Regions from separate parts of the Homo sapiens genome. Here regions 2, 3 and 4 are each linked to region 1. The links are contacts of gene promoters, found by promoter capture Hi-C in blood cells and fetal thymus (Javierre and others, 2016). All regions are on one chromosome and are shown on one strand. The core of a region is centred on a gene start or on the middle of the fragment in contact, and the rest is flanking DNA. Distances in the headings are between cores, read along the strand shown. Region 1 holds the start of MOB3B (MOB kinase activator 3B). Region 2 overlaps LINGO2 (leucine rich repeat and Ig domain containing 2). Region 3 overlaps PLAA (phospholipase A2 activating protein). Region 4 overlaps PLAA (phospholipase A2 activating protein).

Evidence for each region. Contacts are between HindIII fragments. The CHiCAGO score rates a contact against its expected background, and 5 or more counts as called.
Region 2: a fragment that was not itself captured here is called in contact with the fragment with the promoter of MOB3B in region 1 in 3 of 17 cell types (M0 macrophages, M2 macrophages and M1 macrophages); the score reaches 19.0 in M0 macrophages.
Region 3: a contact is called between a fragment that was not itself captured here and the fragment with the promoter of MOB3B in region 1, in 1 of 17 cell types (M0 macrophages). The highest score is 5.3, in M0 macrophages.
Region 4: a fragment that was not itself captured here is called in contact with the fragment with the promoter of MOB3B in region 1 in 1 of 17 cell types (monocytes); the score reaches 5.6 in monocytes.

Annotation. Positions count from the first base shown.
Region 1 is chr9:27,528,252-27,531,470 of GRCh38, reverse strand. MOB3B (MOB kinase activator 3B) reads left to right here and starts at 1,657. Exons shown (of 4, transcript NM_024761.5): 1 at 1,657-1,916. It overlaps LOC124902107 (dapper homolog 3-like), which reads right to left and starts at 3,015. Exons shown (of 2, transcript XM_047424279.1): 1 at 2,745-3,015; 2 at 771-2,451. The coding sequence starts at 3,015. The coding sequence ends at 1,463. RefSeq lists silencers at 1,610-1,909, 2,880-2,929. The HindIII fragment of the contact is 3,596 bases long and covers 326-3,219 here.
Region 2 is chr9:28,069,300-28,072,716 of GRCh38, reverse strand. The region is part of intron 6 of LINGO2 (leucine rich repeat and Ig domain containing 2); the gene reads left to right. Among named protein-coding and RNA genes, the nearest start is that of C9orf72, 500 kb to the right of the region's middle. The HindIII fragment of the contact is 4,763 bases long and covers 1-3,417 here.
Region 3 is chr9:26,930,596-26,933,618 of GRCh38, reverse strand. All of the region lies in intron 2 of PLAA (phospholipase A2 activating protein), which reads left to right. Among named protein-coding and RNA genes, the nearest start is that of PLAA, 15 kb to the left of the region's middle. The HindIII fragment of the contact is 8,628 bases long and covers 1-3,023 here.
Region 4 is chr9:26,912,614-26,915,947 of GRCh38, reverse strand. It overlaps PLAA (phospholipase A2 activating protein), which reads left to right. Exons shown (of 14, transcript NM_001031689.3): 11 at 2,001-2,069. Among named protein-coding and RNA genes, the nearest start is that of CAAP1, 21 kb to the right of the region's middle. The HindIII fragment of the contact is 2,819 bases long and covers 572-3,334 here.

The DNA of each region.
Region 1 (3,219 bases), core at 408-2,907:
TGTCATCTGTCTATTACAATGTTGCTATGGTGACACCTTTCCAATATCCCTGTGCTTCTTTGGTATCCTCTAAGGGGAAGCTGTAATGAAGTGGCTTGGCAAAAGAATCCTCTTGGAATTTTTTTTTTTTCATATGCTACTGAAAACCAGCATGATTTTCCTCTTATGGGAAATGTATAAAGTATGAGTTGGAAATGATGGAAATTAATCTGTACTGACTTGGGCAAGGAATGTGAATGTTATTCATTCTGTTCCAAACTACCTGAAAATATTCTCTTTCTGTTCCTACTTTCCAGGAGATAACATCTTAAGGGACACTGAAGCTTGTGCGTGTGTGAGTAGAACACGTGCTGGGGGCTCTTGAGCTCATGAGGGAGGGGCTACATGTCGGTGGGGTGATAACTGTATGCTGGAAACAATGATAGGTGGTGACCCTGGAGCACTTACCATGTGACAGGTGTTATGCTAAGCATGTTGTATGCATTCCTTCATTGAATGACAGCTACCTATATTATCCTCATTTTATAAGATGAGGTAACAGAGCTTCAGAAAGGTTAGACTCAGCTGCTATGGGTCTGTCTGACTCTGGTGTTCTTCCTCTTAAAAACTGGGGCACTTTGGAAATGAGATTCCTCGGTGATGAACAGAAATATTGCTTAGCGGCTGTATTTTTGTATCTGGCAGTTTTCCCATATTTGAGTCTTATATTCACAATCGGTATCTTTACATTACACAAAAGTGACACAGAATTAGAGTCATTTAATCCAGGGTTGATATCATTAAGTCATGACTATTTATTAAATGTTTCTTACAATATCTGAGATGATATTGCAAAAGATGTAAGTGATTTTAGAAGTTCTCACTTCGTAGTTAGTTGCAGAAACCTCTTTTGGAGGAGGGATGTTTTCTCTATATATCCTAATTTCTACTTAATATATTTCCACACCTCTTTGAAGTGTGTAGTAAGAATGGTAAAATGCAGTACTTCGTCATTTGGTACAGTTCAATCAATATGCATTAAGATGTGATCATATGGGTAATAGAAAAATGTGAAAGATCCAATTCTTTTTCTCCAGAAGGCAGGAAGCTCATATTTGATTTCTGTTACTATAAACTATAAAAACGTTTCAAATGTAGTTTACCCGTAACCATCACCCTGCAAGGGTGATATTGCTCCCCGCCAATTTACGGAGGAGAATACTGAGGCTTTAAGGTTGTAGATAGACCAAGACCACACAAGTAGAGAGTGGCGGGCTGTGGGTTGAGCTTTAAAATCCAGGTTCATCCATGACTCCCAGTGTGTTCTAGTAAATCCACTAGAATCTGAGTATTTTCCAATGATTTATGCTCCGCTCTGTGTCAGGCAGTTCATGGTATTTTTCAACAATCAGAAAATCCTGGGGAAGGCAAACTGTTTCCCCCTCTCTAGGTGCCTTGGAAGTGGCCGTTGTGGACCCAGAGATCATCCTTTCTGATCTGACACCTTCTTCACTGCCCTGGCCCAGTGTCTTTTCTGCAAGGCTGGAAGCCCCCTTAGACTGGTCATGTCCCATCTCTTTCCGGAGGGAAGATGATCCCAAAGACGACTTTTCTCTCCACGGTGCTGCCATACCGCAGGCGGCCGCCAGGGGTCCCCGCTCGGCGTCCCCGCGAGACAGTCGAGCCCCGGCCGGCTGCGCGGCGCGCTGGGTGCATGAGGGGGCTGCTCCGGAGCGACGGCGGCTGCAGCTGGAGCCAGGCGCTCGCCCGTCCGCCGGTTGGCTCGCCGGGACCTCGCGCACCGGCGGCAGAGTCCCTTGCGTGGATTGGCAAGCGACGCCCCACCTGCCCCGAGCTCACCATTTTCTTTCGCGCTGGCTGCAGCTGACCCGGCGAAGGGAGCCGACCGGGCCCTGGGCTGGAGGTAAAACCCCACGGTGAGTAAGAACCCGCTCCAAGCTAGGGGAGGCGGCGCAGCCCGGTGGCTGCTCGCTCCCGATCTCGCCCGGGCGGGCGGCGAGGTTTGGGGCGCACCTGGGCGCGGGTGCAAGAAGGTGCGGGAGGCGGCGGACCGGTCTTCTGCCCGCCGGCCACGGGCTTCCGGGGCTGGAGTCCTCTTCAGACCCCTGCCGGCGCCTGGGTTTCTGGCCGGCTCCTCGTGTGCACTTCCCGGCAGGAACAAGGGTCGCCCACTTTCCACCCCGGGATCTTGATTTGTCCTTGATTTGAAAAGATATAAATCAATAAGATCGTCCTTCTTTCGGGGTGCAAGACTCCGAGCCCATCCCCAGCCGCGGACGCCTGCAGGGTGCGTGTTGGGCTGTGGGTGGCGGGAAGACAAACTTTTACAAAAGTGCGCCTGGGCTGGGGGACAACGCTTGGGCGTCCTGATCCTGAGGGAGGAGTCTCGGCTTGGGGCAGCGTAGGGGAAGTCCGCACCGTCAGCCAGGTCGCCCCCGGGGCTGACGATGCCTCACGGAGGTGGGGAGCGTGTAAAGGCCGTACAAATCGCGCTTAACTTTGGGGCCAACAACTGTCAAACATCTGGAATCCCAGCCCCTCCCTTTCCCTGAACTGGGGAAGAAGGTGAAAACCCTTCAAGTTTTCTTTGATTGCCCCTTCCCACCTTCAGACCCCTGCTGGGAGGGTAAAGCGCCGACCCCTGGTGCCTGGCAAGTACCAGAGACTCTAAATCTCTCGGGATCCCCCCCCTCGCGCTCTTTCCTGACCCTCTCCCCTAACCCTCCCCACAGAGATCTCTCTACGCAGCCGACTGAGATCGTGGCGAATGGCCTTTTGTTTCTCCGCGTTTCCCCTATTGTTTGCCTTTCCAACATCTGGCGGGGCTTGGGGAGAGAAGGAAGCCCCTCTGGTCCCCCTCCCCGGCCCCCACGCCAGCTCCGGCAGGGGATCCCAGCTGGGAAAGTGGAGGAGCCCGACCCCAGCGAGGCCGCCCCACCCCGCCCTTGTGGTTAGAGGGCGGAGGGAAAGTTGTTCCTTCCCCGCCTCCGCTGCTGCCTGTGGCCCAGGGCGCATTTCTCAGATCTCAGCCCAGGCGCGCCGCAAAGGCTCAAATCCGAGAAGGTGCTGCTTTCGAGACAGTGGAAGCGCGTTCCGCCCCAATCCAGAGCGTCCAGTGGTTGGTTCCAGAGGATTTCAATCTCTAGCCAAAGGCGTTGGGGCTGGGCCGCTGCTAGGGCAGTGGGAGGGGATCGGGGCACCTTTGGTAGGCGGAAAGCT
Region 2 (3,417 bases), core at 326-2,825, 540 kb before region 1:
GATGAAATAACAGATATTTTCTGTGTTCCTACCTCACTATCTAAGAATAACAATAAAAAAATCAGAGGGAGAATTTCTGCTTCATTTACCGAGTGGCTATTGTTTAAAAGCTAAAGTCAGGAAATGGAATATTTTGAAGTCCTACTGGGAAGGGATATATGATTCTTCACTCCAGAGAAATTGCACTAAACCTTTTGGCCTGACAGGTCTAGTCTAGCTGAAATAGTTCATCAAGATCCATTTCTGTACTGAGCTGTCATTTCACCAAGTAAGCTATATGGTTTGGATTTTGAAGGTTTTGGTTTCTGCTGAAACTCAAAGATGGAAAATGTTCTGAGACAAACAAGAGCAAACTCTGCTTAATATTCCCTGGCATGGTCACCTCTTGGGAACACCCCTAAAGAAGGTTGAAATGTGTGCTTGCAGCTGCATTTTCTTAAGAGAGGACAGGTCTCAGAATGCAGAATAGAGAAGTAGCTTTTCCAGATTCTCCATGTTGTGTGCAAGACATCAACTGTGCCAGTTCATACACATGTTGTGCGAGTCCCTTTCCCAGAAAGCACACAAAAAGGAAAATAGGAGTCAGTATTCTTTATTATTCATCCAGAATAGATCATGCTTTGTGTTAAGTGAATAGAAAAAAGTGCAAGTAAATACTGATATGTAGAAGGAGGATGAAGATGGGATTGGTATATCTTGTCTCAAGAAAATCTTTGCTCTAACCAGACGATCATATGTACATTGTCTAAAGACTTATATAGTGTATAATAGGATGCAAATACATTGGGAACTGAATGCCTCCAACTGTTATAGTCATTTCATTGGTGAAGTGTCTTTGACTCTTTTAGTTTTCACTCTGCAATAATAAATAAAATTCAGAAATATATTTTATATCAATATTTTATATCTACATCTATATTTATTGTTAGAATGAAGAGAATGACGCACAGAAAGAGCTGTGACAGACAGCTCTTAGAACCAAATGGACCTGGATGTATATCCAGTTTTTATCACTCATTTATTGGCTAATTTTTGCCAAAGTACACAATACCTGTGAGCCTTAATTTTCCTATCAATACCCACCTTCTAGTGTTTTTAGGGGCCCTTGTCACAGATAGGAATTTGATAAAAATTATCTCGTATGATTATAAATGTATACATTTAAGACCATCTAAAGAATAGTTGGGAAAGTACAAAAACTTTACAAAATGGTAAGGACTAGAGAAATTTACACATAAAAAGTAATTAACTAGCAGCTAGGCTAGAGTAAATAAGTACAAAGAGTAGCAGAGTGATTGAAAAGGTACCAACAGTAGAAAACTATAAAGATTGTGTTGTTGCAGTTTCTATATTAAAGGACTATAAAGAGAAATGAGAAAGAACATAGCCTACTCCATATCGTGTTACATGAGTGTAGTGACTATGGCTGCAAACTTGATTGGCAATAGTTGTTAAGAGCTGAGCACCACACTTGAAATGTACAACCCAAGGATCATATATGCCCCACCTCAACCCCAAGGCACCAATAGCAGTAAACTGCTGAATTTGCCTGAAAAAGGGAGGAATATACATCTTCCAAATTTCCGCTATAAGTGCATGTAAGGCAGCATCACCCTTAGATGATTCCATAAGATAACTGTTGGTACTCAGACATGTAAACTATCTCATCTTCCTCAATATACTTTATAAACAGTAGTACTGGGGCCAGGCATGGTGGCTTAGGCCTGTAATGCTAGCACTTTGGGAGGCCAAGGCATGAGAATCACTTGAGACCAGGAGTTTGATACCAGCCTGGACAACATAGACCTTGTCGCTACTAAAAATAAGAATTTTAAAAAATAGGCAGACATGATTACTCATGCTGTAGTCCCAGCTACTTGGGAAGCTGTTGCAGGAGGATTGTTTGAGCCTAGGAGTTCAAAGTTACAGCGAACCTGTGATCATGCCACTGCACTCAAGCCTGGGTGACAGAGCAAGACCCCATCTCAAAAAACAAACAGAACAAAACAAAATAATAGTAATTCTGGTCCATGGCCCTATAACACCAAGTACATAATAATTACAGTAGTTATAAGATTTGCCACAGTAATTTGTTACTTCTAATGTTTATAGTACTAGTTTATAAATGATTTACTATTTTACATAAATTAAAGTGGAAACAAGGTTATCTCTATTATATCAGTATCACTCCCTAGCATTATGTAGATGGAAAAGCCATCCTGGGATTTAAGGCAGGACTGTAGGACAATCAAATAAACTGAAATGATTATTTGCACATGTATGTTTATGTGTGTTGGGATTTGTTTTTTGGTTTTTGGTATAGGTCATGTGGCTATGTGTAAGTTTTAAAGTCAGATAAACTTGATAGTCAAAAGGATTAGAGAGGAAAGAGAAGCCTGATTTGCTTCCACCAAGAGGTATAACTCCAACCAACCGCAGGAAAAAAACTGTCTTCATGATGACTTGTTTTCTGGTAAACTAATAGACTAGGGTTGAGGAAGTGAGGAATGTGTATATGCAGTTGTGCTTATAACATGGCTGGTAGAAATGGGGGTCCTTAAACCACCTAAAGTGGGTAACTCTTATTGAGTTAGAGGATCTGGAGTATCTCTCCAGGTTTAGGTGATCTGGCGAAACCTGGTCAGAGCGCTGTGTGACATTAAAGAGAGTGGACGGACATGAGCTTTTGCATCCTGAGCATGCTGCTCTGCACTGCCCATCTGCTGTTGCCCACTATGAGCGGCTTCTTGAGCTGCCCCTGCTCTGTTGTATATTTGTGCAGTGCAATGGCGACACTCACCAGCAATTGCTGGAAGAGCTTTCACTTTCCACATGGCTATTTGGCAGTTAAGCAAACTATTTTATGGCCTCACTGTTAATCTCTGCTGATGAGATTCCCACTGGGACCAGCCAGCACACTATAGAAGTGGGGAGACCTCATAAGTTGGATGTCTCTGGCCTTCTCCATGAACTCAACATCAGGCTCGCTGGGCACTAAATGCTGCTACTCTTTCAGTATGCTCCTCAACGTAGACAGAATACATTCTCTCATCAGAATATCTGGTGAGATTACAGAGCCAGAAACTCTAGAAGTTATAATTCCATTTTGGAGTGGTATAAGAAAGGCATTCGGAAGGAATATCAAAACCTGCACCATGGGTTGAATGCAAAGCAGTTTCTAGGCTGAGTCCTGCTTAAATTATCAGAAAACAGAAGGATTAGTTGAAATAGTTTCTCTACCACAAAAATAGTTCTGTTTGGCTTTAGGTTATGAACATTAGACAACCTGCTCTTCCCATAATAGCTCCATAGACAAACCTTTCTCTTGCCTCCTTCAGGGTGTCATTCATAGTATGTCTATGCTTGGAGTGATCTATTGCTAATTCAATAAATAATGAGCACTGACTATATGCCAGT
Region 3 (3,023 bases), core at 396-2,895, 600 kb after region 1:
GACAGGGTTTTACCATGTTAGCCAGGATGATCTCGATCTCCTGACCTTGTGATTTGCCCCCCTCGGCCTTCCATATTGCTGGGATTACAGGCGTGAGCCACTGCGCCTGGCCAACAAAAATAATTTTTTATTTTAAATTATTTTTTAATTTTAATTTTAATTTATTTTGAGACGGAGTCTCGGTCTGTCACCAGGCTGGAGTGCAGTGGTGTGATCTTGTGATCTCGGCTCACTATAGCCTCTGCCAGGACTGCCTCCCGGGTTGAAGCGATTCTCCTGCCTCAGCCTCCAGAGTAGCTGGGATTACAGGTGCCCACCACCATGCGCAGCTTTTTTATGGTTTTTTTTTTTTTAGACAGAGTCTTGCTCTTTCACCAGGCTGGAGTGCAGTGGCGTGATCTTGGCTCACTGCAACGTCTGCCTCCCGGGTTCAAGCAGTTCTCCTGCCTCAGCCTTCTGAGTATCTGGGACTACAGGCGCGCGCCACCACACCCAGCTAATTTTTGTATTTTTAGTAGAGACAGGGTTTTACCATGTTGGCCAGGATGGTGTCGATCTCTTGACCTTGTGATCTGCCCAACTTGACTTCCCAAAGTGCTGGGATTACAGGCCTGAGCCACCGTGCCTGGCCCATTTTTGTGTTTTTAGTAGGGATGGGATTTCACCATGTTGGCCAGGCTGGTCTCGAACTCTTGACCTCAGGTGATCCACCCGCCTCAGTCTCCCAAAGTTCTGGGTTTATAGGCATGAGCCACTGTGCCCGACCAAAAACAGAAAGAATTTTTTAAATGTTTGTGTGCCTGTATGTGTGTTTGTGTGAGAAGTCTTCAATACAGAGGGATACAGATTTTTAAAATTTTATATAGAAATCAAATGTACACAGAAGTAGAGATATCTTATTTTTGTTTCATCTTCCCCCCTCCTTCCACTACATCATTTTAAAATTTCTGATATTCTGCTGTTTCATTTATAAATACATCCTTCATTATGTGGCTCTAAAACAGGGGTTGGCAAACTTTTTCTGTAAAGGATCAGATAGTAAATAAATTTTCTGCTTTTCAGGCCATATGGTTGCTCTCATAACTGCTCAACTCTGCAGTTGTAGTGCACAGCAGCTATAGACAGTAAATAAATGAATGAGCATGTCTGTGTTTCAATAAATCTTCATTTGTGAACACTGAAATTTGAATTTCATATAATTTTCACGTTAGAAGATTGCCTTTGATTGTTTTTCTCTCAATTACTTCAATACGTAAAAAACATTCTTAGTTTGTTAGGTATACAAATACAGGTGGCTCACCAGCATTAGTTTGTTGACCCTTCTAAAAGATAAGGACACTCACGTCCTCAAAAGAATAACCACAATATTGTTATCACACCTAAAACAAAACAAAACAAAACAAAAACATCCAGTGAATGTTCAAATTTACCCAGTTGTCTCATAAATCTTTTTTTACAGTTCATTTGAATTCTGACCCAAATAAGGTCCACATCTGTTTTGTTTGTTTGTTTGTTTTGTTTGTTTGTTTTGGAGATGGAGTCTCACTCTTTTGCCCAGCCTGGAGTGCAGTGGTGCAATCTTCAGCTCACTGTAACCTCTGCCTCCTGGATTCAAGTGATTCTCCTGCCTCTGCCTCCCAAGTAGCTGGGATTACAGGTGCCCACCACCACGCCCAGCTAAGTTTTTTGTAGTTTTAGTAGAGATGGGGTTTCACCATGTTGTCCAGGCTGGTCTCAAACTCCTGACCTCTGGTGATCCATGTTGTCCAGGCTGGTCTATAACTCCTAAACTCTGGTGATCTGCCTGCCTCGGCCTTCCAAAGTGGTGGGATTACAGGCATGAGCCACCGTGCCCAGCCCTACATCTTTCAATCTGTCAGTTTCTTTCTTTTTTTCTTGTTGCTTAAAACCAGATTATTTTAGCTGTAGAATTTCCCACAATCTCAGTTTTACTGGTTAAAGCCTTGTTTCCTTTAATGTGTTCTTCAGTCACCTATATTTCTTGTAAGCTGTTAAATAGATCTAGTAGCTTTATCAGGTTCAGATTCAAGTTTTTGGCAACAGTATAGGTGGTATTCTGTATTTTCTATTGTATCACATCAGGAAGCACACAATATCTTTTTGTGATATTAAGATTGATCAGTGGGTTCAAGTGTTGTATCTTTCTTTCATTATAAAGTTCCCATCAGCCTTTCACATAATGGTAATTTTTAGCAGCTACTGATAATCATTGCCTAGATTCAATATTTTATTAAGGTTTACAAAATGATTGTACTGTAATTCTAATATTATTTCTGCATTTGATCGCCAAGACTTTTCTGTATAGATCTTTCCACATCAACTGGTTACCATGTGGGACTTCTATACAGAAAAGACAGAATAAATGCTTTCCTTGACCCTTCTCCCAATTTATTTACTGGTTTGCAGAAGGAGTTGTTTCCTGAATTTTTTTTTTTTTTTTCAGTTCTCAAATTGTTCCATATCTGGCCATTGGAAACCTCTTTAAATTGGCTCCTGTCACCTTTTTATAAGACCTTCAGTAGTCTTCCTTGCTTTATTACAGAATGTTCTAGGTTCAGTTTGTACACTTCTTGCTCTAGACCTCAAACCAGCACTTTTGCCAAGAAGTCCTGTTTTTTTTTTTCTTTTACTGGGAAATGGTATTTTATCCAATTATATCATACTGATTTGTGGAAGAATGTAAAGAGCACCCAAGTTACAACTATTAAGATCTCAGACTGGGCATGGTGGTGCATGCCTGTAATCCCAGCACTTTGGGAGGCCGAGGTGGGTGGATCACTTGAAGTCAGGAGTTCACGACCAGCCTGACTGACATGGTGAAACCCTGTCTCTACTAAATACAAAAAAATTAGCCGGGCATGGTGGCGCATGCATGTAATCCAAGCTACGTGGGAGGTTGAGGCAGGAGAATCACTTGTGCCTCGGAAGCGGAGGTTGCAGTGAGCCAAGATTGCACCATTGCACTCCAGCCTGGGCAACAAGAGCAAAACTCCCATCTCAAA
Region 4 (3,334 bases), core at 732-3,231, 620 kb after region 1:
TAGATAAGATGGCTTTCTCTCTATCAGCAGTTCAGAAACAGTGATGCCCTGAAACTTAATACCAAGTGAGAATCCAAATCACTTTGGCGGCTTTTTTTCTGGAACAGAAAGAACATATCAAGCTTCAACTAATACCAGCAAAATCAAGAAAACTCCTGGGGCCATTATAACCAGAGCATATCTCACTGTTCCATAATGTCAGTAACTCAGAAGATGCAGTAATTATGTAGATATGCAAGATAGCATACACAATGTCCAAGAGAATTAGGGTATCAGGATAATTGAATACACTTTTGTATAAATATATAACAGCATCTACCATATTGAGGTATGAAAATAAAATAGCATAATATGTGTAAGTGTTAAGCAAAATGCCTGGAGTATATTTAAGCCACGGTATGTATTAGTTGTTGTTGATGATGATGTTTTCCCAACTTTGTCAGTGGCACTGGGGCCAAAAGATTTCCCTATCTGGCTACAACTTAAAGTCAGTCTTAATTCTTCTTTCTTTTCCTTATTAATTTATGCAGTCCTTAAACTGCTAATGTTTATTAGAATGATCTGGGAAGCTTGTTTAAATTACTTATCCCAGGGTTCTATGGCCAAGAGATTCTGATTCACTAGATTAATGAGGAGGTTAAAACTAAAATTATTCATGCTCTGATCTCTCACCCAAGGATTCTAATTAAATAAATGATCTTGGTGGTAGTTTGATCTTAGATTTTTTTTTTTTTCGAGTCAGAGTTTTGTTCTTCTTGCCCAGGCTGGAGTGCAATGGTGCGATCTCAGCTCACCACAAACTCTGCCTCCCATGCTCAAGCAATTCTCCTGCCTCAGCCTCCCGAGTAGCCAGGATTACAGGCATGTGCCACCATGCCCAGCTAATTTTGTATTTTTAGTAGAGACAGGGTTTATCCATGTTGGTCAGGCTGGTCTCGAACTCCTGACCTCAGGTGATCCACCCGCCTCAGCCTCCCAAAGTGCTGGGTTTACAGGCGTGAGCCACCATGCCCAGCGATCTTATTTTTTAAAGTTCCCCAAGTGTTTCTAAAGTGGAGCCAGTTTGGAGTAACCCTGGGTTATGGGTGGACTCTGGGAATCTGTGTATTGAATCTGTGATTCATTCAGGTGGTCAGAAAACCATATTTAGAAAAGTGTGAGAGTGTACTTTACCTTTTAACAGCTTAATGCCTTGGGCAAGTTATTCAACCTTCTGCTTCTAAAATATTGTGAATTATAATGGTATCTATATAATACTTTAATGAATATATGCATAGAAGATGATTAACTGGCATATGGTTAAATTTCAACAAATCCATTTATTCTGTGTTTCTCATTATTTTAATTAATCTTACTTTTTTTTTTTTGGTTTTGCTTTTTTAATTTTCTTTGGCATTTCTGTATGTTTTGCGCCGGTTGTAACAACTCCTAGAGTATAAATTGAGAGAGGCTAGAACAGTAGCTCATTTTTCTTCTTCCCATAAAGGCTGATCCATTATTCTGAATATCTCCAAATCCTGCTGATTCTCTCTCTATACTTACTCTTTAAGTTTCCTTCTTTCTATTTTCAATAGGACAGCCACAAGTATTATCTATAATAAAATGTGACTGGGCTGTTGTCATAGTATCTCTAACTCTTACCTGAGTCTTTTCCAATTGTCTTATGTGCTAGTTAGTCCCACCCCTTTACTTCAATAGAATAGTGTTCACATTTTATTCTGGAAACTTTTATTTCTCTCCAATCCACTTACATTTTTGTAGTTTACTAAACTTCTACAATTATAATATATAAGGCATGTAATGTTTACTTTGTAGCTAACACTTATGATATGCTCAGGCACTGTTCTAAGCACTTTTCTGTATTAAATTTGTGGCATATTTATTATGTATATAATGACGCCATTGTGAAGTGTGCTTAATACTGGAAATAAGCGAAGGAGCAGTTTGAACTTTATAATTTACAGTCACCTTTGCTTACTAGGAGTATTATTGTATTGTAGGTGCTGGTCGTTATGTACCAGGTTCTGCAAGTATGGGAACTACCATGGCCGGAGTTGATCCATTTACAGGTACATACTTTTTATTTCTTTTTCTTTTTTTTAGATTTTAAAAATTCGTTGGAACTTTAATAAAAAGAGTAAGAAAATTTGTGTCATTTTCTTGCTTGAGAACTTTTTATATAGTAAATCGAGACCAAACTTGTCTGGCTTTTTGAGTTTTCTCAGAATTGTCTGATTACTACATTTTAGAATCATCTGGGGAGCTTTGCAAACGTACTTCAGCCTTATCCCCAGAGATGCTTACTTGGTCTAATTCTGCTCTGAGATGGGGGCTTGGCAAAGGGTAGTTTTATAATCTTCCAATGTGATTCTAATATGCATCTAGGATCGGAAACTACTGTTTTACTGTCGTAAATCTGCTTTCCTCACTACTCTTACAAAGTCTGTGTTTATTCTCATCTCTTCATTCTTAATGTGTTGAGAATGTTATTCACTGGATTATACATTGTTCTCTTTAAGAAGACTCAGGAAAGAATTTGCTTCTGTGATTTATGCCTGGAATAGCTATAGTTCTTCTGAGCAACTAATTTTTTTTTAATCCTTAGTTACCTAGTCTACAGTCTGACATACCTCACTTGTTCATTGAATATGTGCTGGCATGTTTTCCTCTGTATTGGCTGCCAGTAAAACACAGAGCTAAATTTGTGGTTCATCTCTTTCAGGTTTGACAGATATCTTGGCATATATTTTTTTCTAGTTAATTTTTATGTTCTTTGTAATTTATATGAGAGAAATTGAGTAACATATATGTTATTCAGCATTAAAATAAACACCCATAAACCTACCACTCAATAACTAACCTAGCATGTGTTTTTATTTTTTATTACTTTTGAGATGGGATCTTGTTTTGTTGCCTGGGCTGGGCTCAAACTCCTGGGCTCACATGATCCTCCCACCTCAGCCTCCTGAGTAGTTGGGTTTACATGCGCACACTACCATGTCCATCACTTGGCATGTGATTTTGTAAGCTATTTTTTAATTGCAAAAGTAACATTGGTTAGCAATACTGAAGTATAACATAGTACCTGTAATTAAGATTATGGATTCTGGAGTGAGAATCTAAATTCAAATCTCAGCTCTACTACTTTTTATCTGCTTGACCTTGAACAATTTATTTGATGTGTCTGTGCTTTTGTTTTTCTCATTTGCAAAGTTGAGGTCATATCTACTTCCTAGAATTAAGAACTTAAAATTATAAAATTTATGTAAATAACTTTTTACCAAATTAATGCTTAGTAATTGTTAGCTGTACTTGTTAACAAAGGTTAACAGTG